7 separate regions of the Homo sapiens genome follow, and regions 1, 2, 3, 4, 5 and 6 are each linked to region 7. The links are contacts of gene promoters, found by promoter capture Hi-C in blood cells and fetal thymus (Javierre and others, 2016). All regions are on one chromosome and are shown on one strand. Each heading gives the region's core, a stretch centred on a gene start or on the middle of the fragment in contact. The rest is flanking DNA. Distances are from core to core; before and after follow the strand shown. Region 1 holds the start of LOC105370989 (a long non-coding RNA gene). Region 2 overlaps LOC105370991 (a long non-coding RNA gene). Region 3 has its middle 18 kb from the start of LINC02852. Region 4 overlaps LETR1 (lymphatic endothelial transcriptional regulator lncRNA 1). Region 5 overlaps LINC00923 (long intergenic non-protein coding RNA 923). Region 6 overlaps LETR1 (lymphatic endothelial transcriptional regulator lncRNA 1). Region 7 holds the start of NR2F2 (nuclear receptor subfamily 2 group F member 2).

The links. Contacts are between HindIII fragments. The CHiCAGO score rates a contact against its expected background, and 5 or more counts as called.
Region 1: a fragment that was not itself captured here is called in contact with the fragment with the promoter of NR2F2 in region 7 in 1 of 17 cell types (endothelial precursors); the score reaches 8.8 in endothelial precursors.
Region 2: a fragment that was not itself captured here is called in contact with the fragment with the promoter of NR2F2 in region 7 in 1 of 17 cell types (endothelial precursors); the score reaches 5.2 in endothelial precursors.
Region 3: a fragment that was not itself captured here is called in contact with the fragment with the promoter of NR2F2 in region 7 in 1 of 17 cell types (endothelial precursors); the score reaches 8.5 in endothelial precursors.
Region 4: a fragment that was not itself captured here is called in contact with the fragment with the promoter of NR2F2 in region 7 in 1 of 17 cell types (endothelial precursors); the score reaches 5.3 in endothelial precursors.
Region 5: a contact is called between a fragment that was not itself captured here and the fragment with the promoter of NR2F2 in region 7, in 4 of 17 cell types (M2 macrophages, M0 macrophages, erythroblasts and 1 more). The highest score is 9.1, in M2 macrophages.
Region 6: a fragment that was not itself captured here is called in contact with the fragment with the promoter of NR2F2 in region 7 in 1 of 17 cell types (endothelial precursors); the score reaches 10.3 in endothelial precursors.

What each region holds. Positions count from the first base shown.
Region 1 is chr15:95,016,823-95,021,161 of GRCh38, reverse strand. LOC105370989 (a long non-coding RNA gene) reads left to right here and starts at 3,036. Exons shown (of 2, transcript XR_932645.2): 1 at 3,036-3,161. It overlaps LOC105370991 (a long non-coding RNA gene), which reads right to left and starts at 2,245. Exons shown (of 12, transcript XR_002957693.2): 1 at 2,119-2,245; 2 at 1-118. The HindIII fragment of the contact is 4,026 bases long and covers 1-4,003 here.
Region 2 is chr15:95,171,765-95,175,947 of GRCh38, reverse strand. LOC105370991 (a long non-coding RNA gene) reads right to left here. Exons shown (of 12, transcript XR_002957693.2): 12 at 4,161-4,183. Among named protein-coding and RNA genes, the nearest start is that of LETR1, 150 kb to the left of the region's middle. The HindIII fragment of the contact is 1,499 bases long and covers 633-2,131 here.
Region 3 is chr15:94,605,412-94,609,786 of GRCh38, reverse strand. No RefSeq gene overlaps it. Among named protein-coding and RNA genes, the nearest start is that of LINC02852, 18 kb to the right of the region's middle. The HindIII fragment of the contact is 1,625 bases long and covers 915-2,539 here.
Region 4 is chr15:95,276,167-95,280,536 of GRCh38, reverse strand. LETR1 (lymphatic endothelial transcriptional regulator lncRNA 1) reads left to right here. Exons shown (of 4, transcript NR_034095.1): 4 at 441-1,249. Among named protein-coding and RNA genes, the nearest start is that of LETR1, 49 kb to the left of the region's middle. The HindIII fragment of the contact is 2,637 bases long and covers 351-2,987 here.
Region 5 is chr15:97,750,754-97,754,733 of GRCh38, reverse strand. The region is part of intron 1 of LINC00923 (long intergenic non-protein coding RNA 923); the gene reads left to right. Among named protein-coding and RNA genes, the nearest start is that of LINC00923, 120 kb to the left of the region's middle. The HindIII fragment of the contact is 4,064 bases long and covers 504-3,980 here.
Region 6 is chr15:95,321,837-95,326,079 of GRCh38, reverse strand. All of the region lies in intron 1 of LETR1 (lymphatic endothelial transcriptional regulator lncRNA 1), which reads left to right. Among named protein-coding and RNA genes, the nearest start is that of LETR1, 3.1 kb to the left of the region's middle. The HindIII fragment of the contact is 4,883 bases long and covers 1-4,243 here.
Region 7 is chr15:96,328,049-96,331,970 of GRCh38, reverse strand. It overlaps NR2F2 (nuclear receptor subfamily 2 group F member 2), which reads right to left and starts at 1,271. Exons shown (of 3, transcript NM_021005.4): 1 at 1-1,271. RefSeq lists a silencer at 1,379-1,518. The HindIII fragment of the contact is 6,805 bases long and covers 1-3,100 here.

The DNA.
Region 1 (4,339 bases), core at 741-3,240, 1.3 Mb after region 7:
CAAAGTGGTATCTGTGGTCCCAATCCATCACAGCGGCTACTTCACACAGCTGCTTCTGGCCACAGGCTTGAGACTCTATACAAGAGGCTAGTCAGTGTGCCCAGCATTTCAGGGGATCCTGATGGCAAAACAAGAGTACAAGACAAATAGGACCGTCAGCTGGATGAAAACCATCACCACCCAGGGAGGAATTAAAATCAATAATTTGAGAAGAGTCATATAATGTTATTTTGGGGAATCATTGAATCTCAGATCTGCAAGTGATCTTGAAGCTCAGTTCAATCAGCTCCTTCATTTTACAGCTGAGGAACTACAATTCAAGATGGGCAGTGATGTGTTAACATTCTTGCTGTGGGTTTCAACACGATCCCAGTGTAGAACCCAGGTGGGCTGATGCCAAGGCAGGGTTCTCGCAACTGGGCCTCCCCAGGTGGAGCAGTGAACTGTGCTTCCTCTATGAGGATGGGGGTGGCAGGTTGGTGGGGTGCAGAACATCTGAACCAAAAGTGTAGATGATAGTCTAGGCCCTGAAGGACTAGATTTTCCTTGCCCAAGATTTTCATCCTATGCCACAGCCTACCCTTCCCAGACACAGTTTCAGCATACATCTTGCGCCTGTTTCCTAGTCCCCAGACCAGAAAGACAGCATAAATACAACAACTCTCCCAACAAGAGTGCTACGTGGCCCTACAACTGCATCAATACTCCCTGTCACTTTTCTCTCAGAATCTCAAAATGCTGAACCATTTCTGTGGACATCGTAATTAACAAAAGAAAAAAACAGCAACAATAGCAGATCTTTGGGACACGAATTAATTATCATATGGCCATTAATTTTAATATGAATTTAAGTTTCCACTATGGACACTACACAATATTTCACAGGAATTTTTGCTTACAATGTATTGATGGGATGCTTATATATGAACTGGCATGCTGTTTCTAAGAAGTATGCCAGGGTTATGCATTTTCATAAATAGAAAACTAAACCACAGAGGCTCTGACTAGCCCAGGTTAGAATTTAGATTTCCTGGCCCTCTGCCTTGTACTCAGAGTGGAGTTGCCAGAATTCATGAACTACTGTTCAGAGACACCTGGCACTATCTTGCTAAAGTCTAGGTGCTTGTGATGCACGTATTTAGGAGCTAAGAAGGTTGCTTGCCAATCCACCCCCACCCCAGTCTCATTAAATGCCCTTTAGTGCAGGACAGAGATGATTTTGCCCTTTGTTTCCATAAGAAAGATGGCTATCTGTCCGTAAGAAAAATGGCTCTGTGTGTGTGTGTGTGTGTGTGTGTGTGTGTGTAGAGCTATTATAAATATTTGGGGGAGCTGCATTAAATATATATAAATATTCCAATGCATAATATACTTCTGCTTATATCTCAATAAAATGGAAGGGAGCATGATCCAGCAGGGATGGACTCCAGAGTCAGGCCTAGGTTCGAATCCTGGATCAACTACTTAAGAGCTCTGTCACTTTGGGAAATCTATAGAGCCTTTTTCATCTATTTCTTCAGCAGCAAAATGGAAATTTAAAAAGGTATCCCTGCCTTGGAGTTTGTTTTCTGTGGATTAGAGATAATAAATGTGGTGTGCTTAGTATTTCACGGTATGTATGCTCAACAAATAGAATCACACAGCATTACTCACAGCTCAAATTATGGTGGAGCAATTGCTGAGCGTACAAGACTACTGACCGTTCTTGCAAAGCCACTCAGCATAAGGTATATTTAACTCATTGCATCAGAGGGATATTGAGGGTCATCTGCTTGAAATAAACAAATTCAATTATTCTGCAATGTAGTGGTCTAGAGCAATTCACTTGCTACCCAGAGGTGTGTAATGAACCCATTAGAACATTTTGCATATTCGGGGCAACTGTTGGGGTGTGGGATAAAGCATGCATCACAAATTCCACAGGGCTGTATTTAGAAATTCTGAGAACACCTTCAGACTGAGAGCAAACCACAAAACCGGCCTGGAAGTGAGGAGGGAGACTGGAGGGAAAGCACTGAGATTCTTCTGCTGACTATAGAGGTCACCTGACCCTGACTCATAACTTTTACTGAGTTGACTATATCTCACTTCCTGTAAGTGCCTGTCCCTCATACTCACTTTCAAGGACTTGGCCAATCTCCTTTTGTAAATAGAACAATGCTTTATATTTCTCTATTACTCCAGAGTGACTATATCAATAATGCAGGAAACGCATCTGTCCAGCACAATGAGATTATTTTTCTGATTTCGGTTGACAGTTATGGTAATAGTTTGGCAAACAATCTACTCCACCATCAATGACCGCAGATTACAGCTGTTTTTAAAAATCTCAGCCGCTTCTGGAAACTTGGAAGATGGACTGCACACTGAGAGAGAGATGGAAAGACATGCCATAAGCCGTTATGGTAGAAAAATCCTTAACCCTTTCTGTACATAAAAGGCTAAGAAAATATTAAGAAAAGCACAATGTGCCATCTATGGGTACACTATAATGAGAACAAGGTGAGGAATGACAATGCTGAGACATCGTTAGGACAGTCTAACATTGCCAGGGGGGCTATAACGCAACAGAGAGAGTCTGCAATATTTCAGAGCACTGCATTTTATGTTGATAAATTTTCCAAGTCACCCAGGAGTTATTGCAAATATTTACAGGAGAGAAAATTGAGAAAGAATATTATCTTCCCTATTGGTCTTGATGAATAGAGCCACTAGCTAGTCAATAACAATGACCCAAGCCCAAGATTGTCATATGTTTGTTGAAAAAATAAACAATAAAACGTGGTTTAATTTACTTCTGCAAAAGTGATGAATAAAAGTTGATTTTTAAACATTGGAACTTCTTAAGTCTTAACAACATGCGCTTTTCTTAAAAGTTCATAACAACTCTTACAAAGGTTTGATTTTTGACACTTATTTTCCCCCTTTGGAATTTTTTCCTTTACTTTCGTTTCATCAGAGGCAGAATGCTGATCTTGCTAATGGCCTGCAACCTTGGCATGTGGCCAGCCATTGTTACCCAGGGACCAGGAGACAGAATGCTGGCTGTGCGAGTCTCCCAAGGTGCGAGCTTTCTTTCTCTCTGAATTAGGAGGTGAAACCATTTGGAAGAGCCATTGTAAAGGGGAGGGCTTTGGGCTGTGCATACTCCTCATATCCAGGTGAGTTCATTTTTCTTGTGAACTTTTCACCTAGGCCCCAATTAGTATCCTATTAACCTCCTTAAATATGGAATTGCTAAGATCTTAGAATACTCCAGAATGGACTATTAGCCAGCCCATTTCCTGGCTCCATCAGATGAAAATGCCAAAGTAGGTCATACAACAGAATTATCTTGATTAATTTCAGCTCTCTTGCATGGGCCATGATGTCATGCAAGTTAAAGGAGATTCAAATTTAATGCATCATTTCAATGACTGATTAAACATGGGATTTTCTGAAAAACATTTACAATTCCAGGTTTATAAGGATTCTCCTTCTTTAATATGACAAACATTTCAAATGTGCTAAATTGATCAATTATACAAATGATAAATTCCCTTGAATATACTTTTTCATGTTCATGTTCTCCAGGGCCTAATATGGAAAAAGGTTTATTATCCCCAGTAACTACTATGTTAGATGAAAAGCTCTCAGCATTGTGCCCCTTTCCTATCCATGGATGCAGGCTATTAAAAAACAAAACAAAACAAAAAAACACTATGAAGATGCCACATCTACTCCAGAAGCCTACTCAGAATGGCATTTCCAAATATAAATGGCTTTGCTAAGGCTAAAAAAAGCATCAAACTTTACATCCTTTATCATACATTCCTAAAGGACTCCCTTGAAAAAAGCACTTAAAAACATTGTATCTTGGAACATCTCATATATTGGTGCAATTTATTTACAAGAGTCAGATTTAATTTGTTTTCATGTATAAAGCAGCTTTAGGGACTTATTAGCAATTTCAAATGTTACAGGAAAATATGCTGAATCTAAAGTTCATTATCACAAGTAAGCTTATTTAAGTGAGATTATTTGTTTCTTAAAATGTACAAGATAGCTAGTTCTTTAAAAGGCTTCTGTTGCATCATTTCACTTAGAAATAAAGCTTTTGGATGCAGCTGTTATGCTCTAAAGTCAGGGTTGTGTCTGTTTTGTGTTTATAAGTAACATGGACACAGCCTGCTACTATAAACACTGAACCCGGCTTAACATGTTCCTGTCTTTTCCAGATGAAAATGCAACTTACTTTCGTGATTTAGGTTATGAAACTTTAAAACCATGTCACATTTTAATATGCAGGGGTTCCTTCCTGTAATAACCTGCAATGTATATTCATGTTTGCAATTTCTAG
Region 2 (4,183 bases), core at 133-2,632, 1.2 Mb after region 7:
ACACCTATAGCTCTAACTACTTGAGAGGCTGAGGCAGGAGGATTCCTTGAGCCCAGCAGTTTGATGCTGCAGTGAGCTATAATCATGCCTCTGTACTACAGTCTAGGCAACAAAGTAAGACCCCCATCTCAAACAACAACAACAAAACGAAAACAAAAAAGAAAACATAAGAAAACTAAATTAAAAATAGAGTCATTAAGCAATATATAACATAAAACAGATGTAATATTATACTTTTTATACTGGTAAATATTCTGTGATAAATCAATTTGGTTTTAAGATTTTGCAAATTTTCCTGGCTAGTATATATTCTTTTAACTTGAGATATTATAGTAACTATTATCAGTAGTTTTAGGACTAGATTTTGAGCCTCCGTGGACAAAGATTATGCACATTTGGTGAGCTATTTGGCATTTGTAACAGTTTTATGCAAATAAATACATAAATGATGTTAGTAGATGCACTGACAAAAATAGAGATGTGTTAATCATATTTATTAAGAGGGAGGTTATTAAATCTCTTAATTCATGTAGTTTTCTCCTTGTTTGTATCAGAATCACATATTTGTTTTATAATCAGATAAATAAAACAAGGTAAAGAAGAAATAAAATGGAAAAATATGCGAGAAAGCTTAAGAATATGCCTCGCACACATCACCATCTGGAACCAAAATATTTTCACCATGCCAATGTTCACTGAACCAATAATTCTCTCTTGACCAATATGTGAGTGGAATGGATAACTTCCTATGAAGTTACTTCTGGTTCATTGGCAAAGAGCAGTCTATTGCACAACTGAGTGTCTGCTTACCTCCCTCCCATATTTTTATTTACAGGACAAGTACAAAATCATTTGTTGCCGATTAGAAAGAAAAAGGAAATTCCAGAGAGTTTCTCAGAATGACTTTTATTTTGATGGACATATTTTAATGAACCAAATTTATGTGAAAGTTTGTCCTGTTAAAAGTTCACAAAAATATCATGCATGATTGATCTCAAGACTGTGCCTTGATCCAAAGACAACACACAACAGCAGTCAAACATACATTTTATGGGCTTTTGCCTGTTTTGCAATAACACCGGAAAACATTATTTAATTAAAATTTAAAACCGTAACTGATTAATTTTCTGAGTAAACAATCCCTGTAAACATGGAATGTCAGCATTTTAAGGCTCCACGAGTATAAATTTTACTTCCGTTGCATAGACATCTGGGAAGGACTTTGGCACAAGCAAAAAAGGTGACAATGTGACCTGGAGGAGAAGGGCTGTTTGGAGACCTTGCACGTTCTGTAATGTCACTCCTGTCCATGAGGCTGAGGCCCAGTCAGGTGTAGGAAAGCTGCCCTGTCCTGTGTGACTGTGTTGGCATGGGCAGCTGTCACTCCATCTACAGCTCTTTGCTAGCTGTAAATTGCCGGGGGTGGGTGGTGTCCAAAAAGCCCAGCCAGTAGCTGATCCTGCTGCGGCCTCACTGGGACAATGAGGAAGAAATTCTTAGGAATTTGGTTGTTGACATGGCTGTGCAGAATTTAGACTGAGCACTCCCACTGGGTTTCTGCTGTTAAACATCATCCCCAATTGTTACAGGAGCCAGAAAGCGATCTCATTTCTCTTAAGCAATTTTATATATTTTCTTAACAGGGGGAGGTTTAAAACTGTTACTTAAAGTACTCTTGAATGGCTTTTTGAAGAAACATGGAAATATATTGCCAGGAAAATGGGGGAGTATGTTCAAAGTAAGAAAAAATCTAAGACTCTCTGCTTAGGTATTTGTGTAAAACCTGAAATTTAAAAAAAAAGCTCATAATCAAGTAATTTTTATTAGACATTTATAGTCTTGCCAATAATAAATTTCGTGACCTTTGTTCTTCTAAAGTCTAGAGAAAGAACCAGAACTGAAGTGCTTTGAGCTCCTCCAGGTGATGTTCACAGCTTGCGTTTGTGTTTCCAGCCTGGTTCAGCTCTTTTGAACTCACTTCAACCCTTAGCTTACTTATCCAGACCAATCCTGCATGACAGATACCCTCCCTGAGGTGGGGAATGATACCATTCAAATAAATACTTTCATACTTCTGGACCCTGCTTTATTCCTAGTAAACTTATTTTTCTCATCAGTGTGTATGGAAGCTTTTTAAAAGAAGTTTCCATGCTAATTAATTATATTATTATTACTAGAGGAAGAAGAAGAAGAGTGAAGAAACTTTCCCCAATAAGAGAAACTTCAGTTTTTTGCCCTGTCTCCCAAGGAGGTCACGTATTGGCCATCATGTAAAACTTGGCATGCTTCTGTGAAGGGATTTATTAGTTAATTCTTCCATCCTGTTGATTAGCAGTGTTTATTAAGTGCCTGATTCCCATAGTAAGTGGCATAGAAGAAAAACATTCTGCATTTCTTTCATAGAGGAAGTGGAGAGCAAAAGAAGGTGCATCTGTAAGCTCTGCATTGACAGGCAGACCTCAGGGTACTGCAGGTTTGCTTTCAGATCACTGCAACAAAGCAAATATTGCAATAAAGCAAATATTGCAATAAAGAGTCACACAATTTTTTGGTTTCCCAGTACATATGAAAACTATGTTTATTTTATACTGTAGTCGATCAAGTGTGCAACAGCATTATATCTAGAAAAGTACACACCTTGATTAAAAAATAATTTATTGTTAAAAACGCTGACACTGAGGCACAGAATGAGCACATGGTTTTGGAAAAATGGCACTAATGGACTTGCTCAATGCAAGGCTGCCACAAACCTTCAGTTTGTAAAAAACATGCTATATCTGCAAAACGCAATAAGGTGAGGTGCAATAAAACAAGTTGTGCCTATAAACAGTGAGGAATTCACATTTAATGAGCACCAACTACAAGTCCATCTAGATATGTCATCTGATATTATCTATGTAATTTCAGTTTTTCCCTGCCTTTGGGAGATGGGGGAATTGACATTTTTATGAAGCTAGAAAACTCGGCAAAGGAGGCAAAGACAAAATGCTACTGAGTCAGGATTTCAGGATTCAACCCGTAGTGCAGTTAACTTCAAGCCGGAGTACTTCCTGTCATAGCATCGTGTCTCATAGTCGACAGAATCAGTCAGGCAAAGGGATAATGTGGGTCTTAATCCATACTTTAGAGGAGAGTCAGATGTGAACCTTAAGGAAAGAGAGAGAGAAAGCAGCAACCTGGGAAGCTAAAATGGGAGGCATGGTTAGGGGTAATCTTGTTGGGATAAAGGGAATGGGAGTAAACTGAAGCTGGGACACAAGATGGCTAGGCTTTTCCACTGGGCAATGAAATACCTGGGCATGTTATAATTCCTAAGTAACATACCCAGGTATTTTTTGGTTTCTCCTTTCAAAGACTCCCTAAGACTTGGGTCTTTGTGCCTAAAGGCTGCTCTTTTTTAACTTGTGGTAGGTTGTTTAGGCGAATCATACCTACATTGGTCTTACTCAGACAACCATACAACCACAGTCTAGATCCAGAAGAACCAGAGGGTTTTTTTTTTTCATTTTATTTTATTTTTGAGATGGAGTTTCACTCTTGTTGCCCAGGCTGGAGTGCAGTGGTGTGATCTCAGCTCACTGCAACCTCTGCCTCCCGGGTTCAAGAGATTCTCTTGCCCCAGTCTCCCGAGTAGCTGGGATTACAGGCATCTGCCACCATGCCCGGCTAATTTTTGTATTTTTAGTAGACATGGGGTTTCTCCATGTTGGTCAGGCTGGTCTCAAACTCCCGACCTCAGGTGATCTGCCCGCCTTGGCCTCCCGAAGTGCTGGGATTACAGGTGTGAGCCACCGCAGCCGGCCCAGAGGTCTGTCTTAATGGAACGGGTAGATTGGTTTCTAGGACAGTAGCTGGGAACATGAGAGGAGATCTTCTGACATCCAAGTTATCCAAGCCTTCCCTTGGCATAAAACAAAACAAACATATAAATGCCTAAGATGCCTACTTGCTCTTAACTATTAAACCAGAAAGCATATCTGTGGCATCAAATACGTACACTATCCCACATGATGAATGTTTCTTGATCATCCACCTTAGCAACCACTATGAAACAACATTCACCCTTTGCCTTATTCCTATTTAGAGTAGTACTGTGTACCTAATTAGGATAGAACTATTCTAGAACTCAACATGTTACTCACAATGTTGGAAGCCTGGCTTAGGCAAAGTACTTGGGAATCTT
Region 3 (4,375 bases), core at 478-2,977, 1.7 Mb after region 7:
CCTTCCCATAACTTCATCTCCATTTACAGTAAGGAAACTGAGGCTCAGAGAGGTTAAATGACTTGCCCATAGTCTCACAGCTCCTAAGTCGCAGAACTACTACCCAATGTTAGGCAGCCCAACTCAACCATCCATATCCTTAAGAGCCACCTTCTATGGTTTTGTGATTATTTAGCAAATTATAGCAAATGCAAATAAATGTCAATCATTAATTAGGTATTAAATTTTGATTTGAAAATGTTAAATCAGCTTGCAATTGGAGAGTCCATTTACCAAACAAAACAAGGCACAAAATGTTCTCTTTTTCACGTTAAGCCTTATCTGTTCTCAATTGCTCTTTAATATCACTTTGATATCTTTATTTGCTTAATTTCATGTCTTTGCATTTTTTTCAGGGAATATATTAACTGTAGCTAAGTCAGTCTTCTACCAACCTAAATATATCCTTTTTAATAATAATAATAGTTTGTAGTATTATTATAATAAAGCAAACATTTTTTGAGTTGTCTTTGTGCAGCTATTAGGTTAAGTACTTGATTATCATCACCATAGCCGAAGGAGTCAGATGCAATTTATTTCTTGTTTATTGTTAGAAAATCTGAGGCACGTAGAGTTTAGAATAGCTTGCCTTAGATCATATGGATAATAAGTATAAGAGCTAAGATCTTTTGCCTCTCAAGTGCGGGCCTCTAACCATTACACCACATAAGAATCACCCACATAAACTTCAGAGAGGAAAACGCCAGAGGCAGAAGGGCATGCTGGAGGAGAGACAGGGCACTAGCCCTGCCTCTATTCCTGCCTGCTCCTGGGCCCTCAGTGACCTGGAGCATGTCCTTCTCTGGAATTCGCTGTGCGCTCTGGTTAATAGGGCAGCACTCATGAATTCTAAGGTTTGTCCCAAATCCAAAGCTTGTGCTTTCCCTTCCAGGTTTTTAGTCAAGTCATTTCCCATCGTCTTGACTTCCTTTCCCAGCTCACCCACACGGCATCCCTCCCGTGATGGTTTATTTTATGTGTCGACCTGGTGAAGGAATGCCCAGACAGCTGGTAAAACATTTTTTCTGGGTGTGTCTGTAAGAGTGTTTTTGAGAGAAATCAGGATTCGAATTGGCAAACTGAGTAAGGAGATGACCCTCCCCCACATGGATGAGACTTCTCCAAACCTTTGAGGGACTGAATAGAACAAAAAGGCAGAAGACAGACAAATTTGAGCCTTTTGCTTGAGCTGGAACATCCATCTTTTTATACCCTCAGATATCAGCATTTACAGTTTGCCAGCTTTCAGATTCAGACCACAAATTACACTATCTGCCCCCTGATTCTCACGGGGGACTTTGAATTATACCACCAACTTTCCTTTGGAATTGGACTGAATTTTACCACCAACTTTCCTGGTTCTCCATCTTACAAATGGCAGATCATGGGACTTCTCGACCCCCATAACCATGCGAACCAATTCCTGTAGTAAATCTCTTCCTATCTGTCTTTCTATTTACTTATCTATCTCGTATTCGTTCTGTTCCTCTGAAGAACCCTAGTATACCTCCACCCATGGGCCTTCATTGCCTCATTCCCCCACCTTCTATTCCCTAATACACAGGCCCTTTGACTTTTTCTTACCCCTCATTCCATCAACACATTAAGGACTATGATAAACAAGCCATCGTTTTGCAGTGATTCAAATACAGCCTTGCATTTTCTCCAATTATTTTCTTCTCTGTATCGTTTCTTCCAAACTTGTTAGTACCTTTTCCTGAGTGGAACCTAGCCTTTTCCTTATTTTTTTACCCAAAAGTTTCAATGAAGACATCGATTAGTAAAATCGTATGGTTTTCAAGGGAAAACTACCATGCACAGCTCATTGCATCTCCTATGTGAAATTAGAGCCCAGTTTCTGCTACAGATAACTAATATATTGTTTATTAAAAGGTACTGATTTTTACAAGCAAACAAAAAGTAAGGCTGACTGTCAATTTCTGTCTCACAAAGGAGGTTTCTGGAAACATGTTTCCCAACCTGAGATACCTGAGATTCTAAATATTTTCGATAATTCGCTTTGCCATTTGGAAGATCTGAAATGCTTGTATCACTTTTTTTCTAACTGTTCCTCCCCTCCCCTTCCCAGTGAAGGCCAACATAAATACAGGATGAGAGGAGGGCGGCGGGGAGCTTGGGAGGGAGGAGGATGGGAAAAAGAAGAAGATTTCATATCAACATTCAGATTTGATGTACATTATGTGCAGCAGGATCCAGGAGGTAGAGAGGCCGCCAGCTGGGGTTTGTGGTTCCAGAGGAAACAGCTGTTTTGAGATTATAGGAACAAAGGAAGTGTCAGGCCGGAAGGAGAGCAGGAAGCCACTTCAGCCCCTCTGAGTTTTTGTGGTAGCTCCTCCTTGTACCAGGGCTGTGAGACCTTCGCACGGTGTTCTCTAGGACAAATTAATGTGAGAAAATAATAATAAAACCACGAAAACAGAATTTGATGGGGTTTGTCATTTGGCTTGGTTTAAACAAGTGGTTACTGGTTGTGTAAGCTTGACTCACAACCCTGCTTTCTCATGGAGCTATTCCCCCTGCCCTGGTAGCAGGCCATGGAAGATTTCAAAAACAGCTTCTTACTGTGGGAATGAAAATTTGTTCATTAAAGATGTTACCTTTTAAACTCTCTGCCTCCTACAAACAGCTTTAGGCTTCTCCCACACAAATGTCTCTCCTCTCTCTCTTGTATAATAGGGAACTCTTTTAAAATATCAAGTAATTAAAGCTCTTCATGGGTGAACTCACCCATTGAGAGGAATCCTCCAGCACACGAAATGGTGTCTGTATCAAATTCTAAATCTGTCTTTTAAAAAACCCAACATATTTTTCTGATTTTTGGCAGTAAGAGACCTAATTTTGTTCCAAACGCGATACACTTGCCTTTTTTTTTTTTCCTCAGTGGGTTTATATTCTCCAGCTCCATTTGGGTGAAAATTTCTGTTATCCAGAATGAGTCAAAGACAGATTAAATAGCTACCTATATTTAAATTTTCTCCCATATTCAATTGTAATTTGTGTTCCCAGATAAATAGAGTGAGGAACCAAGATGAGGGAAGGTGAGAAGAAATGATGATAGGAGACAAATGGAGTTGTCTTTTTTTTTTTTTTTAATTGCCTCACTGTTACTGGGAGGTAGTAAAAAAGAAAAGGAAAGAAAAGAAAAAACCTAGACAACACACTCAAGCCCATGTCTGCTGATCAGACTGTGATGTGTTTGACTTTAATTTGTGCAACCAGCCCCCTCTCCAACCTAGTGCAGATGCCATGTCCTTTTAACATCAGCAGCCACTGGCCTCATTCTCATACCCTGAAACATGTTCCCTGGAAGTATCTCACAACCAGCCAGGGCAGAGAAGCAACCCTGCATGCAGTGAAAAGCAAATTGTTCTTGTGTTATACTTAGGCAATTTTGTTTTCCATGAGGTGTTTTAGTTTTCTTTGATTTGGGGTTACATATAAACAAAGTTATGTTTAAGAAATAACCATGGAGAAAAGCAATGATCAGAGAGGAATGGTTCCATTTCAGGAGCAATGTAATACTTGTCTCCTGGATGTGAGCATGGACCATGTGCAATTTCCTTTCTCTTTCAAAGAAAATGGTGAGAAGACCAGTTCCATCAGCACCTTTGCTGCCCGGGAACCCAGGTATACATTCAATTCAATTCATCAATTTCTCAGTTAAAGTCATGAGGTGATTAATGTAAGAGGCTTGTCCTGAAGCTGTTCACTCATATTGGCTTCCAGTCAAAGATCGAAATTCATGAGCACACCATTCAGAACATTTTCCACAGGAGTTGACTCTATTCCCCTCTTTGATGAAGTGCCATTTCTTCTAAGGGTAGGGCAGTCACAGTTAACTAATAAGTTACCTCAAGGTTGTCGACTTCGCTGTGTTGTTTCCTGTGGGAGACTGGGAATGAAAACTCAAAAAGACATAGGACCATGTGCCCTTAGGGCTCAGAGGGACTGGAGATGTCATCTGGCTCAACAGAAGCATGTTATGGAGGAAGAAATGGAGCCAAGGGAGACTGAGTGCCTGTTCAAGGTCCCAGGCCTGAATGGCAGAGCTGGGCAAGACCCGTATCCCCTTACCACTCGCGAGCCTTTGCCACAGCTCAAGGCACATTTCTCAACGCATTTTACCTACGTGGGCAAAACAGATCGCGGGTTCTCCTTGATGAGGCAAAAGACTAAAACGATGGGCCAGTGACCGATGAAGGGTGGCAGGAGAGCTCACAGATGAGAGGGTGGAGAGACAAGAGAGGTCCTGGGAAACGCATGTAGAAGAGACAGAGAGGGAGGGGTAGAGAAGGGAATATTCAAATTTTCATTC
Region 4 (4,370 bases), core at 420-2,919, 1.1 Mb after region 7:
GGATCAAATAATGAAGCACAACATTTAAAAGCTTAAAATATGGCTGGGTGCAGTGGCGCACGCCTGTAATCCCAGCACTGTGGGAGGCCGAGGCGAGCAGATCACCTGAGGTCAGGAGTTCGAGACAGCCTGGGCAACATGGTGAAACCCCATCTCTACTAAAAATACAAAAATTCGTTGAGCATGGTGGCACACGTCTGTAATCCCACCTACTTGGGAGGCTGAGGCAGGAGGATCACTTGAACCCGGGAGGTAGAAGTTGCAGTGAGCTGAGATTGCACCACTGCACTCCAGCCTGGGTGACAGAGTGAGACTCTGTCTCAAAAAACAAACAGAAACACATAAAAGCTTAAAATGTTTTGGGAAAGTGCCTACTCTGAATGTATGAACAGATTCCAATATATGTAAGAAGGTGGATACCAATTCATGGTATTTCTCAGGGATCTCATCAGAGAGAGAGACATCTTCGCCACTGCCATGAAGTTTCAAGTACAGAACTCTTCCTCGTAATCAAACTATTTCTATGAACAATTCACTCATCATTGTGGGAAAGTCTATTTTTCATCTTAACACACAAACAGACAATAACAAAATTTGTGATTTGGATAATCTGGATCTGATGTTCATGCTCAAAATGGAGGCAATTCGTAATACTGGTCTGAAGCATTTAGTCATTCACTGAGCAGATACGTTAGGAGCAACAGGCATGGGCTGTGTTTTTCTAGGCACTGTGAACACAGCAGTCAACGAAGTCAAAAACCTGTGCTCTTAAGGGACATGAATTGCCAAATGGAAACACTAAGTTTTTCTATTTATGACCTAAAGCTAGTCAAATATCTCCAGAAGTAAGGTAGCTGAGTGAAGTGGTTCATAATCTTTCCATGGGAGCCAAATCCTCGGTGCTGTGACTCTTTTAGATAAATGATAGTAAAAATGAATCAAAAGTTAATTAGCTTGCACCTCAATAATCCAGTCTCCATCACTGATGGTCATCGTGGAATCTGCGTACAGAGGCAGCTGTATACAGATGACAGAGACAGCTCTAACACGTGACACATTTAAGCACACAGAGGCGGAAGGACATAAAGTTCCTGGTTGATTTCCCTTTGGTGTTTGTGGGGAAATATCAAGGTCATAAAAAGTCAGTTTCTAATAATCCCTCCAGTCCTCCATTCCATTCCCTAATTTGTATGCAATGGCATTTAACATTTTGACTTTGCTTAAAATAAAATGTGTGTTTGTTTTAAAATAAATCTAGCTTCGATACCGTCAACCAAAGTCCAACACAAAACATTTAAAGAATCAAGAATAGGTATTTGAAGGTGTGGTACGTTTCTCAGACTCTGGAAATGACTTGAGTGAGACTCAAGAAGGCAATGTACTCTTTCTTGTCCTGATATAAACCAACAAATAAACAGCTTCCAAAAGCCTAGCTCTACAGACATAAAACATCTGGATGCTTTAAAAAGAAATCCACATTCTTGGCAGTGTGTTCAAACTCAGAATCCAGATCTTCTGAAGTTCAGACATCACCGCTGCGACAAAATGCTACCCTGTCATGATATGTCTCCATAATATCATATCAACATTATCTGTTCTGCAGAGAATCTCCTTAAAAAGTTGAAGACCTGAGGGGAAATGTAGTTTTATCCTATAAGGTCCCGGAATTTGATCCTATTTGTTCATTATGCACAGAAGGTACTCTATGTAATATGGAACTCATGATGAAAATGCTTGAAAAGGTCATTGACTTAGTTCAAATAAACAAATGCCTTCTTTATAACATTCTGGCATGATAGAGAATTAGAGCAGTGAAAAGACTGTAGAGTATAAAGAAAAAAATCCGAGGCCAGTTCAGTTTAGGTTTAGGATATGACTATTCTTAGTACACTGAAAGATGGCTGGAAAGAAGGGAGTGGTGTGTAAAGTGAAAGAAAGCTGGCCACATAGTCTAGGTTTAAAATAGAGAGCGATTAATTATGTAAAATGAGAGCCCATTTTATGTCACTTGCATATATTTCAGGTCTGATTGGTAGAAACCATTGCCATCCTGAGAACCTGGCCTTACTTTTCTCAATGAAAACTTTCTATCACTTCAAACTTCAAGGTAATAGAAGGAGAAAAGAGGCTCTTTAGGGACATTTCCAAAAGCCTCATGCTGACAGAACTTAAAGAAAAACAACTGACTGTAGGAGGTTTGCTGATTTAAAAAGCAAATTCCTATAGAAAGTTTACTTAATAGATTTGTGTTTTCTATTTTTTAATTAAGGGCCTACGACTGCTGGGCTCTTTATGCATAATTTTATTTAGTCCTCACAATAATCGTAGATCTACACTAACTATAGTGTGTACTATCATATATATGTGTGTGTGTGTGTGTGTGTGTGTGTGTGTGTGTGTGTGTGTGTGTATGAGAACAACTGAGCTTCTGGGGTTAAATAACTCCCCCAAAGTCTCCAGTGGCAAAGTCAGAATTGAGCCTCAAGACAGCCTTTTCTCCAAAGCTCAGTCTTTCAGCTACCCATAATGCCTCTTGACAATGAATCAGAGTGAGGCATCTTGAGATGCCCCCAGAAGAATTTCAGGCCTTGTAACTGACAACCAACTGAATAGTGACATTAAATTTTTTTCAAGTGTGGCTTCACCAGTTGCTGAGTTCATGGACTCTGAAAAGAAATCAGGTGTGAAAAGAAGTACTCGACATGTTTGCAGTGGGCTCTAGCTAAAGAGCACCTTGAAAAGCCAACTGCTAGATTTATGGGGAAGGTCTTGCCTAACGAACTTGTGAAAGTTCCCTGCAGATATTATAGTGTTCTCAGCCAGGAAACATGCTGGATTCTGTACCCCATCAAAGAAAAGCATTTGATGAGACTTCATATCGAAATGTACTGCTTGCAGTAAGAAGTCAGGCTGTAGTGAGTCTCAGAGACCAAAACAGGGCTTAGAAAGAGATGCAGTGAGATGACTTCTCCAGCCTGAAAGAAGCTTCCAGCAGGGCAGCTCAGGGAACTGTTTTAACAAGCTCTCATGTTTACATTAGTAGTGAATGACTTAGGGATAAAAATGTCAAAATGAACATTCCAAGGGTAAGGATAATACTCAGCGGTAGCATTAGAAGTCCAAACCTCTCTGTGCTTATGATTTTGTTGCTGTTTTTCAGATGGTGCTGTGAGTGGGGAGTGAGTCAAAAACTCCGCTGGGGTGTACAAAAGTCTACTCAAATGTCCACAGCATCTGTGGGGGATGGAGAATAGTTGGAGGATCTTTCTCCAGAATCCTTCTGTTCTGTAGTACAAGTATTACTCATTATAGACTAGCACGAAAAATCAAGTGAAATGCGAACTTAAGAGTTTAAAAAGAATAAATGGTGCTTTTCTGGCCTATTAGTAATAAATTAAATAAAAATAATTTTAATTTGTAAGTAATGAATGCTAATCTACATTGTATTAATTGGGCTTAACCAGAGAGTTTTTGTTTACATACATTAGGCAAACAAACAATAGGAATGAGGATTTTTAATAAAGAAGGAAGCCAGAAACACACACACACAAGCACACACACACACACACACACACACACACACACACACACCAAGTAAGAGAATACTAAAAGATCAGAGAAAATGTAATTATACTTATCAAAATGTTTTAATGCAGTGGCCTATTAGTTTCAGAATATAAAATTTATTTGATTTGTTGAGCAACTTGGAGCTTATTTTTTAATCCTTTCAGATAATAGGAACTTGAAACATACTTGGCTGTGTATAAGATATATGTGATATTAGAAAATCATATATATCTGTTAATATATATTCAAATATATTACTAAGCAAAAATATATTTACATGTTTATATCAATGATGCAATTAATAAATGTTTTCACATCCTGTGTCTCAATTTATCCTTACATAAAACAAGTGAGTTACTTATTCTTTAACTTCTCTAGGCAAATTTCAAATATTTTCTGAATATAACTACAGAATGCTTGGTTTGTGTCTCTATGAAAGGTCTTAACACACTCCTGCAATGAATTATATGCATATGGCTCTCCCATACTGGGAATGCCTAGAGGAGAGAAACTGTCTTCTTACCATATTTGTATCTATGGTTCATGCCTGCTCCACATAGACCCCTAGGTTTCACTAGAGAGATCTCAAGACAGTAGGTTTGAAGTAAGAGAATGGGAGGATTTAGAGGCATCTCGACTATACTGATATACTCTGCAATCAGCTTGGCATCTGGGAAATGTTTTGCTGTCTGCTTCATCTCCAGTGCCTTGAACAGTACATGTTTCTCTGGAGCCCCTGCAAGGTTTGTTGAAGGAGGGCATACATCAGGTATTCCATAATTTAGCAACATTCCATAATGTGG
Region 5 (3,980 bases), core at 1,286-3,785, 1.4 Mb before region 7:
TGTGAGATTTTTCTCTCCCTTTGAATTTTTTGGGGAATTTTGTAATAGAGGAAGGGCCTGTATTTTTAGACACACAAGCCTTAATAAATATTCTTTAAAAGTGGATGTATGTCCAAAACATGTGGAAAATAAAACATGTTGATGTTTAATTTGGAAAGAGGAAGATAATGCTGATGCCACCCCTTCCCCACTTTTTTTTGTTTTTCAGAAAGTGTAGCATGATATTCTTGTGTGTTAGGTTCTTAAGTATCTAGCATAGCAACACCTTTTTCCCATCTAACTCTGAGCAGCGTATTTAGGCTGGCTGCCTGTCTAAAAAGTTGTTTGTGGAGAGCAGTTAGTCACAAAAGCACATGTGGGTCCCTTATTCCTCTTCAATTCTAAGCAGTGAATATACCCCGGGCTTCCAGGGAGACAAATTGTTTTAATTTGCTAACATTTTGGGACTCTCCAGGACTGTGAGAAGCTAATTTCCAAGTTTTGGGACACCCCTGATAGAAGCTTAGGCAGACATTTTCTAAGATTATCTCTGAGACAAAAAAAACAGGCAAAATATCAATTTCTGCACGAGTCTCATGCAAACCATACAGTCCATTCAAGCACGTTCTTTTTCCCATTCATTTTCTCTCCCTCTTTCTCTCTCTTTCTCGCTCTCGTTTTTATTTCAATTGATGGGATCCATGAACAGAGTTGTACTCCCCTATGGAGTGAATGGAAGCTGGGAGATCAACGCCCTATCACAGAAAGGCTGTGTGACCCTCGCCAGGTCCCTGGGCTTTCTGAATCTCTGCTTAGTCATCAACAAATTTGCTCTTCTGCTGATGGAAATTTGGCCAAGAATTATGAAACGAATGTCTGAAAATTTTTCTTGTTACTCCCATAACAAAAAGCTCTATGTAAAAAGAAAGTAACGTGCTGGTATCTAGAACTATCAAAGAATTTCTTCTTTAGCTAGTAAAATAATCATAACTAATGGTCATCTATGAATTTTCCCTACAAAATCTTTATATCACCCTTTAAAGGAAAAACTCAGACAGGACTAAATGTTCTTTTTTATTTTAGCAAATAACGCTAATGTTCTTTTTCTATTTTATATACATATGTACACACACACACACAGGCCGCAAGCACACACAGACACATATATTATTCTTCCTATATGTGTAGAAACAACGTATAAAAATATGTTGTACATTTTTTTCTTGCTTCAGTGTTTCTGCATGGGTTAAAAATGTAACAAAGTAAAATTTAAGCTCTTTCATGCAAGCATTAGTTCTTTAATATATAAATTTTTATCAGTTAAGTACTGCTTTAAGGAATACTTTTTCTTGCTTTCTTTTTTTTAAAATTGAATATTATTTAATGAGAGGCTGGAATCATATGTACTTCTTTAATGAACATGTAATGTAAAACTTTTAGAGACTTGCTTTAAATAAGAAACTTGCTAAGATATCTGAACAGTTGTATACTGATTTCTAGATTATCAAATTGAAACTCAAAGGTACGTTGCGTTTTTTTAAAAAAATCTCTTGATGTGACAGAATTTGTCAGTAAGCAAATATTATGCTCATAAAACAATTTTTTGGAGAGTATCATGATAGAAGTATTGCACAGCACACAAGTTGTTCAACTTGAACTCATAAAACATCATATTATTTACTTGTCTTTTCCTTTGAAAAATAGTTAATTATTGAAGCACTGAGAACATTTTACATTCCTGGCTTGTGGTTGCGTCTTGCAAACGTGAGACTAATGAGAGCAAGTTCTCACCCCAACTCTGAACTTGCTGACTTATCTGATTTAAAATCCGAGCATTTGAACATTGGTGAGTTATTTTAAATAATGATTCTATTTTGTTGTTGCTGCTGTTTCATGAAGAGTGATTTTTTTTTTTTAATTCAACAAAGACAATGCCTTGGATCTGATGTAGGAGAAAAAGGAGTGATGGGTCTGGCAGACATCTATGGCATGTATATTTATTTAACGGTTTGCTATAATGCTTATTATTAATGATGACAATCATGAACTTGCATGCATTGTTTATTTTGTAAATACACATAATGGAGCTTTCAAAAAAGGAGATCAGCTGCCCCTTGCAACGATGGCCGTCTGCTGGGGAAGTAACTACTCAGAGACCCTTTGTGACTTGGGTTCCTGACCCAGTCCATTTCACTATTAATGCTCTTGGAACATTTTGTGAAGTCCATTTATAATTTCCCTGCTCCGAGCATCTAAAATGAACTGCAGGTCTACGTTACATCTACATGGTAGATTAGATTTGAGTATCTATAAGTGGATTTGAACACCAACAGTACCTGCAAAACTAAATATGCATTAAATGCCATGAAGTTCTGGTCATAAAATGCAAAAAGGATTTCCAAGTTCTTGGGGGATTGGGGACACTCTTCAGATAGGACATAGGTAATTTGATTAACATGCACCTTGAATCTACTTTGTTTTGATTCTGAAGAGCAGAAATAAAATGGGCAAAAACTCTACATGAAACCGGAGGCATCTCAGTTTATTTCAGTACTTTTAATTTTTATTTTATATCTTTATGGCAACTTATAAAACTTCTACTGGACATTTGGGCTTCATTTTGACCTTTCCATGCTCTTTCCCTAGATCTGAATTATTTGGCTTTAGTGAAAATGGAAGGAGTACAATAAAAAGAAGCTCAGTCCGAGGGGCACACCTATTCCTGCATTAATTCCGGATTTAATCGTGTGCTACCTGAACTCTGGGACAGCCAGCTTGGCGTTTATATATCTCTCTCATTGAAAGTCCAAAAATCCCAGGGAAACATTCGAAGGAAAGGAGAAAACGTTTGTTTTCATAAATTTTATAAACCCTGGCTCTAACAGATCTTAAAAGGGCGTCTTACATAGTGCAGAGATGCTAAATACTACATCTGCTTTAAATATTGTTGGGTGTCTCAGGCCTTTGTGGAGAGAGTTTGATGCCGTCTTTTGTTGTAGGACAACTAGTGTACTCTGTGATGCAGGGGAGTTGCTAGTTCAAAGGATACAGCCTTACTTCGGGTTTCTTTTCTCTCTTTCTTCCTTTCTTTCTTTTCTTCTCCCCTCCCCGTCCTCTACATTGTGGTTTTTGCTTGGGGGGGCTTTAGTTTTAAACATTCACATGGAACTCCCAGTCTTTCTTCTTTCAAGAAAAGACAAGCCCTTTATAATAATAATTACAAAATCTGCAGTAAGTTCTGTAAATTGAACATACATGAAGCTATATTGGCTACTATCACAACCTTTTGTCTTAAATTGGGTAAATAACTCTCAACTTTGTGCTTGTGGAATGGAAGGTATTTATAGATATTAATTACAGTCAAGCTAATTTAAAGTATCCTTTATTAACGTTCTTCTGGTTTTATGATTTTCAGGAATAATTGCAGCCACCTACACGTACAGTCTTCACATAATATTCTTAATTGTATTAAATATCTACCCGCACTCAGTTTACATAGCATTTTAATATACATCTTTTATTCAGCAGAAGTCTAAAGGCTTCTCTTTATTCAAACTGAACATTAGATCAGAAAGTGAAGAAGTCGGAGACCTAGCAATGAAAGCAGGCCTTCCCTGTTTCTCCGACAATGATTTCGGGTAGGTGACTGTGTGTTTGTTGAGAAATGGACTGGATGGGATATTGACAGTTTCCTATCAAAAGCTAGACCCTAGAGGCCTGGCTGTTTGGGCCCACACTGATTGACTACTCTTTAATAGACATATAATTGTTGACAAATACCTTCCAATAGACTGTGGCAGCGCCCAGGCAGACAAAGGAGATTTCAGAATGATAGAGACCAGAGCTGAGCCATTTGGTAGAGGCAGTGCCTTACAGAGGAAAGGACTTTGCACATAGTGAACCTACTAAGAGAAACCAGGTCAGGGCATCTCTGTGGCCAATCCTGGGCAATCGTGCCAAAATCGAGAAATTTAAAAAGACTCATTGTTTCTATGTATCAT
Region 6 (4,243 bases), core at 938-3,437, 1.0 Mb after region 7:
TATGTAGATGTCAATTACGTAAGTGCAAGGCCTTGGAAAACAACAGCCCTGCAGGTGGCTTCAAGGCTTCAAGATTTTTCAGAAAAGCATATTTCTTTTATTTTCTTTAAGAAAAATACAAAATAAAAATAACAGCAACCACAGCCGCAAGCATTACCCTCCAACCTCCTGCCCCTGTCTTGCTTCTGAGTCATAAATCATGAAAAAGAGAGAGACAATGACTCCAGTTTTCCTGCCTTTAACAACTGGAACTGCTAATGCCAAAAAGGAAGAGAAATAAACAGGCGAGCTGTATTTCTGCAGAAGAAGGAGAGGTGCCCTTGGGAAACCGGAGGTTCCTCATCTCTAAGGACCTCCCTTCCCTAAAAAGGGTCTCTCCCTTTAAAGTTAGTGGTTCTCAAACCTGTCTTCATGTGAGATTCACATAGGCTTTTGTTTTTTGTTTTAAGAAATACAAATGCCAAAATTAATACTCTGGTTTGATTGGTCTGGGGTGTGGTGGAGGCAGAAGCACTTTGGGGTTAGACATAGGTATTTTGGGAAAACCTTTCCAATCCTTGGCATGTGCAGCCATCCAGCTGTGCATTCCAATCCTGTTCTGTTTCATGGGCTACATGAGATATTATTTGATTCTATTTCATGAGATATATGAACGGGATTCCTGGGATAGTATTCTGTTCTGTTTCACAGGATATACTTATGCCCCCATCCCACAGTTGTCTCCCCTCTCCACTCAAGCATATGCACAGAACCCACATTGGGTAAACAAGATCTCTCTTTTTGTTTCTTTTCCACTACTCAGTTCTATTAGCATTTTAGTGTATTCATTCTGGTTGTTAAAATGTATCACTCCTCATTTTAACACCTCGATAGCAGTTTGGGATTTTTGTTATTTGCTGTTGGTGCATTTATATTTACATATTATTTTTTAAAATACTGAGTTTCGGGAATTGGAGAGCAAGTGATAGACTTGCTGTGACATTTTGAAGTCTAAAATGTTTTTATCAGAACCTGGAAGCCCAGCATGTTGGAGAAGCTCCCCCTTCAGAGCGTGGCCTTTGTTCATCCCCTTCAGGCCCACCTGAGCCACTGAGGATCGCCCGCAGAAGGCTGGCTGCACATTTTGTATGAGCAGAACATTCTTCCTGTTCACCAAAGTGGAACTGAAGTTTCTCTTTCCCTTGGATTTTCTCACTCTCCATGGCCAGCAGCGCCACATTTCTGGATTATGTTGTACGCTTTACCTTGAGAGATAGATGATCTGGTCTTTGATTAGACACCCTGACCTTTTACGAGTGTTGATCATTGATCATGATCTAGGCTGGATAGAAAGCTCTTGACTCTGAAAAGTTACTCGGCTGCTGACACCACAGGGAAATGCAATTTCTGAGTCCTGGTAGTCACTGCAGCAGGACTCCCCCTCAATTAGGATTTCTCTTGTTATTATTTTACTTTTCTTAAGCAAGCTGCAGCCTCTACTCTCCAGCTCTAGCTTTTAGTTACGGTAATCAATTTTTCTGTGTAACTGGCTGTAATTGTTGGCTTGGATATTGAGCTTTCATGGAGCTTAGACATAGAGTGTTCCCGTGAAGGGTCTTCTCCATGCCTAGCAGACAGATGGGTAATAATGCCATATATTAATACCTCCACATTGGTTTATGTGTGTTTGACCACAGTGCAAGCATAATTATTTTTGCCCAGTAAAAGCTATTAGAGATCTATTTGGTAGGTTTTACGATCAATAGCTCCTGTGATATTTGTGTGGCAGCCACAGAATAATCAATTGAAGGTCATATAAAGTAAATTACCATCCTCCTATAATGATTCTTGTTTCTAGATGAAAATTGGGTTTTATTATTTCATCAGGAGCCTCTCACGACGCATGCTCTGTCTGTTTGAGAAAGAGAGATATCAAAGTTGTGAGCGTGTTTTGAACATAGTATTAATATCCATTACTTGAATTTATGGTATTGGATTATTGAATTAGTGGATTCACACTGGAATTCCTTCAAAACCCTTTCTTATGTACTCAGTGACACACTTAACAGTCGAGAGCAAACGGACGGCTTTGCCGCGTGGTGGAGTGAGTCACTTTGCAAAAGTCAATCTTGGTAGCTGTCTCTTTAAAGCAAATTTAGAGTTGGTTAAATGTGTTATATTGACAGTGTGACCGACTGAGCTTCTCTCTGCAAACCCTTTTGGAGAGTGACTGGTGAACTAAACAGGAGATGGAGTCAGGAATGCTGAATACTAATGCATAGTCCATGAGTAGCTCAAGGTGAAAGGGGGGCAAGTGGTGGGCGGAGAGGAGAGAGTCCTGTGCACCTGCTCTCCAGCCAGGTCTCTCCCTCATGCAAGATGCCTAACCTGGATTTCAGACTGGCAGTGCGAGCCAGAGTGATGGCTGTGCCTCTATAAAAGATTGCAATTTGCCAACCGGAGGCATGCAATCCCCCAACTGTCTTAAAGGGACCCATTTTCAAAGTTTAGCCTTTCTTTTTGTGGGTGCAATCAGTTGTGCACTGAAAAACTGCAGCCACAGTTGGATAACTGCAGGCACAACAGGCCACGAGAGGCCTCTTTGCTCCAAATTTTGTACCTGCAACTAATTGCACTTACAGAAAATGGGAGTGTGGTAGGAGTTTTTTTTTTTTTAAATTGGGGCCAGTAAATTCTCCATGGAAGAAATAGGCAAGGAAAGAGACAGTTACTCACTTTCTTAAGGACAAAGGCAAATGGAGACATCCTTTCCTTGACACACCCCATCTAGTCTATAGAGCATGGTATAGAAGCCAAATACCAGGTACCACAAATGCCCTGATCATCTGGGACATTGCCTGGGACTCAGTAACGTCTTGCAAATGTACAAGAAATAATCTATGAAAAGTAGCCCAGAGAAGACATTAGTGAGTTTGAGACAATAACTCCGGTGATAAATTAATGAAGTGTTTTATAATAAATAGCAGAGGGGATTTTCTTTCTATTTAAATAAATTGTTAGTTACTTCTCATTTGCTTTGCAGATAACTCATGCAAAAATTAAGATAGTAGTGACTCTGGATTTTATTCAAAAGGTAAATCTGGAGCCTCTTTGCATTTACAGATATTTATAAATGTACATACATAAGATATGTATGTATTTATATATATATATAAATTATATATGGTATATCTGTATACGCACTTATATACACATATTTTATACATATACTTTTTTTTTTGAGAGATTGTCTTGCTCTGTCACCCAGGCTGTAGTGCAATGGTGCAATCTCAGCTCACTGCAGCCTCCGCCTCACAGGTTCAAGCAATTCTCCTACCTCAGCCTCCCGAGTAGCTGGGACTACAGGTGTGCATCACTGTGCCTGGCTAATTTTTGTATTTTTAGTAGAGATGGGGTTTCACCATGTTGGCCAGACTGGTCTCTAACTCTTGACTTAAGGGTGATCCGCCAACCTCAGCCTCCCAAAGTGTTGAGAGTACAGGCGTGAGCCACCACACCCGGCTACATACACTTACTTTAATTACTTTTTTGATGAGCCTAGGGAAAGGGAAGTCTTGCAATCTTTTTTTTTTTTTTTTTGTCTTGAGACAAAGTTTCACTCTTGTTGCCCAGGCTGGAGTGCAATGGCATGATCTAGGCTCACCACACCTCTGCCTCCCGTGTTCAAGTGATTCTCTTGCCTCGGCCTCCTGAGTAGCTGGGATTACAGGCATGTACCACCACACCTGGCTAATTTTATATTTTTAGTAGAGACGGAGTTTCTGCATGTTGGTCAGGCTGGTCTCGAACTCCTGACCTCAGGTGATTCGCCCGCCTCAGCCTCCCAAAGTGCTGGGATTACAGGCGTGAGCCACCATGCCCGGCCCAGTCTTGCTTTTTAAGGGATGCACAAATACAACTTGGGTGACTCCCAAGTCCTAGTGGGTGAATTTCCTGCCTGGGGGCTTGCAAAGTTATGTCTCACAAGGAATCCATCTTACCATCTATTCTGTACAATTTAGTGACAGGCAAGTTGAGACTCAACTCAAAACCTTGTTTTCTACCTTTTGCAGATGACCATAAATTAAGCTCATAGCCTGGGAATTTGTAAATAATATACAAAATAACATTTGTATTTTGAGATTCTGTTCTTACAGAAATAGTTTGAAATATACTTTTATCCCAATAACAAATTGAATCACCAAACAAAACAAGCAAAGGTTTTAGTAGTTCTTACGGTTCCCAGGAAATTGATGATAGAGTA
Region 7 (3,922 bases), core at 22-2,521:
CCCCGGGTGGCTCGGGGGCTGGTTGGTTGAGGTTGGTTAGTTTTTCCTTTTTTGTTTTTGCTTTTGCAAAGTTTTGTCGATGGCTTGTCTGGCCCGGTGTGTTTGTTTTGTTTGTTTCTCTCGGCTCAGCTTTGTTGGTTTCGGGGGGCTTTCCGCCGGGAGGGGAGGGGAAGGGGACAGGAGAGCGAGTGGGAGCAGAACGTGGAGAAAGAGGGAGGGGAGGGAGAGCTGAAGTCGATTGTCTGGCTTCAAGACAGAAGTAGGAGGCAAAAAAAAAAATCTCTCCAAAGATCTCGCTCGCTCTCACTCTCTCCCTCCCTCTCTCGTTCACTCTCGCTCTTAGAGCTGGTGTGCAGCCGAGGAGTTGGCGGAGGAGGAGGAGGAGGAGGAGGAGGAAGAGGAGGTGGTGGTGAAGGAGGAGGTAGAGGAGGAGGAGAGGCGACTGTCCGGGGGCCAAGTCCAGGGCAGCCCACAGTCAGCCATTCAGGAAAGCCATCGAAATCAGGAGGACTAGGAGATCGGAGGCGCCGGGTGCGGGCGCGCCCAGGGAGCCAGGCAGGCCGGGGCGGAGGCCGGCGGCCCGCGGAGTGGCCGGAGCGCTGCCCGGGTCCGGGGGAATCAGCATGAAAGTGGTCCGCGTCGGGCGCTGCGCGGCGTCGTCCTGGCGCTGGGCCGCCGCCGCCGCCGCCTGCCCCGGGCGTCCGGCGCGCGCCTCGCTCTCTCCGGCCGCCGCCGCCCGCAGTCGCTGGGTGGAGGCCGCTCGCCGTTCCCTGCGGGCCGCCCGGGCCGCCGCTGCCGCCGGAGCCGCCGCCGAAGCCGCCGGGTCGGGCCCGGAGCCGCTGCGTCTAGCGCCGCCGCCGCCGCTGAAGTCGCTGCTGCCGCTGCTGCCGCCGCCGGAGCCGCTGCTGCTGCTGCTGCCGCCGCCGCCTCACACACATAGGGAAAGAGTCAACTCGCCGGCGGCGGGGGAGAAATGATAAAAGAGAGAGAGGAGGGCAGATCACCACCTAGAAGCACATCCTTCGTGCGCAGAGGGGGGAGAAAAAGACGGAGAGAAAGAATGAAAGAGGGGAAAAAAGGCAGTACGGCACCCGGAGAAAGGAGGCAACTCGGGGAGAGGAGGAGGAGAAGAAGAAAACACACACGCGCGCACGCACACACACACCGCGGAGAGAAAAGAACAGAGAATCAAAGTGATCAAATATGCTAAAAAGGGGGGCGCGGGAGGGAATGCGATTTATAGGCGCCGGGGCTGGCAGAAGTGGCTTCTCCGCGATCAGCTCACTGAGCTCTCTATATAGTGAACTTTGACACGACTGCTGCAACTTAGCGCACGTTGCCATGGCGACGGCGCGCCTTATAAGGCAGCAGCCGGGGTTGGCCTGGCCAGGCGCGCGCGCGCCGCCCCCTCGCCGTCATTGGCCGGACTGCGGCGGCCCCGCCATGGCGGCCGCGGGCGCAGCCCGGTCCTAGCGCGAGCGGCGTCGCCGGCGCGGCGCGGGGCACGCGGGGGACCGGGGGTTGGGGGGGCGGGGACGGGGTGGCCGCGCCGCCGCCGCCGCCGCCGCCGAGAGGGGGATGGGCCCGTGCTGGCCCTGCGAGCGCTGCCTCTGCTCTCCCCACATCCCGCACCCGAGGTTTCCGCCCCGGCGGGGAGACTAGCGCAGCGCGCACACACAACGTCTCTTAAAGGCTCCGCGAGAGGCTTTGGATGGAATCGGGGAGTTTGCCTCTCGCAACTTGGCGATGTCACGAATTCCGCCGCTCGCGCACCACCCGGGACTCCTGGCGCATCTTAGTACCCACAATGCCAAAGAAAAGTTCCCTGGTTTCTTTGCAGAGGGATAGGGAGTGAGGGTGGGAAGGTGCCACGAACTGAGCTTGTAGGCATTTTCCAAACGAAAGAGTTGGCCAGATCCGGGTGATGGCAAACCCTTCTCTTAATTAACTCTGATCACTTGTTCGGTTTGGTGACATATATATATGACATATATTCTTTTCAGAGGATAAAGGCCGTTCTGTTTCTGTTTATTCCTTGTAGGGTTAACATTTCACAGGTATGTGGCCTGACATTTTAATTGCCCAAATAAAGCATCTCGGATGCTGAGAAGCAGAAATAGACTTCATCTGATTGTCATGATGCAATTAGAATCAATTTTCCTCAACTTTACCCTCTCTCGCTGGTTTTAGCTAACTCTCCAGCCAACATCCTGCCACACACCCAGTCATGGTGAGAGGGGAAAGACCTCTGCCCACTGATGGACAGGAGGAGGCAGCCGCCCAGCCTCCCCTGTGCACACCCTCTGTACACACATGTAAGCGCACATGTATCAGATGCACATTTGTCAATGTACACAGACAAAGACTTCACCGACTATGCTTCTAGGTCATAGAACAGTTGAGTACGGACTTCATTGTTCCTCAAGTTCCTTTTAAGCATTCATATAGTCATTAAAACGCACCCAGAGATTCTGCCCCAAATGGGAAATAATACTAGTACAGGTCACAAGAACCAAACCCAAGCCATATTCTACCTCAAGAAGTCACTGCAAAAAGAACAACTTCATAGCCTATTGCCATTCTGCTCCATGTGCTAAAATAATTGAGACAGTTGTGTCTTTGAATTCCAGGGTGTCTGGTTTTAAACATCAAACATGTAGAATTGCTCTCAGAACACACTATATTCCAACGCAGTAAACTTGTTGTTTATGACCAGTTAGTGAATTATCATTATTCCACATTTATACAAGAAAATTGTGTCTCCTTTGTACACACTTTGCACCAAGAAAAAACCTCATGCCGGTAAACCAACCAGGTTTGTGAACAATTAAAATATTTTACACAAAAGACGCTGAGCTCCAGGAAAGAAATGAACACATATGAAGAGTAAATTGATGACCACAGAAAACATCCTTGGTAGCTGAAAAAAAAATTGACAGGGTAAAGATATTTTAAAAATAAACCATACATATAATTGACATGCATAGATCACATTTTACATTCAATTCTCTTTACACACATAGGCAGAATATGAGGTAAGGACTAAAGATCTGGGCAGATAGGGGCTGGTTTTTAGGAAAGGAAAAATCTTCTTTAAGCTTCATTCCCGAAACCTCAGCCCTCACTCTTTCTCCGATGAAATCACGTATTTCACTAAAGCTGCAGGTTCTCGGTTTATTTGAAAGTTGTTAAAAAAAAAAAAAAAAGCCCAGCAAACCTATAGTGGACACTGAACTATCATAAACCTGGTGTGTAATAAGATTGCCACAGAATGAAGCCAAGCTGAGAATTTCAGGTTAATTAGAGACACAATATAACTTTCTCCTAAAGAGGATAAGAAGGATGGAAAAGAAATCATTACACAGGAGAAGGTTTTTGGTAGTTGTTGTTGTTTTCCCTTCCAACCTCTATGATTCAGGAATTGCTAATGTTACAAATGTCAGCAGATTCGGGACAAGCTCAGCTGAGATGTGATGAGACTGGGGTTGAGATAGGAAATCTAATGGGCATTCCCATCTCAATAGAGGATGAAAATAATTGATTATAGGGAAATCTTCATCTCACCTCCTGAATGAGACTTCCATAGCAGATTACCTTTTACAAACATGGGAAGGAACAATATCGAGGAGGAAGAGCTTCCCCAGTCCACTTAGAGATTTTTGGAATTTGAAGTATGCGTGATGGCCTTAGATTAAAATGGAATAATTTCCCAACCATATCTTAACAAATTGGAGCCTGCTAGGCAAATGATCACAGGGCTGCCATAAAGTCAGGGGTGTTTCACTCTGTATTTTAGGACTCATTCAGTTATGAAATGCTGTTACAAGGGAGAAAAAAAATCACCGTATGAATTATACTTAATTTTAATGCATAGAAGAAGAGACAAGACTACAGACTGAGAAGAAAAAAGGGCAAAAATATT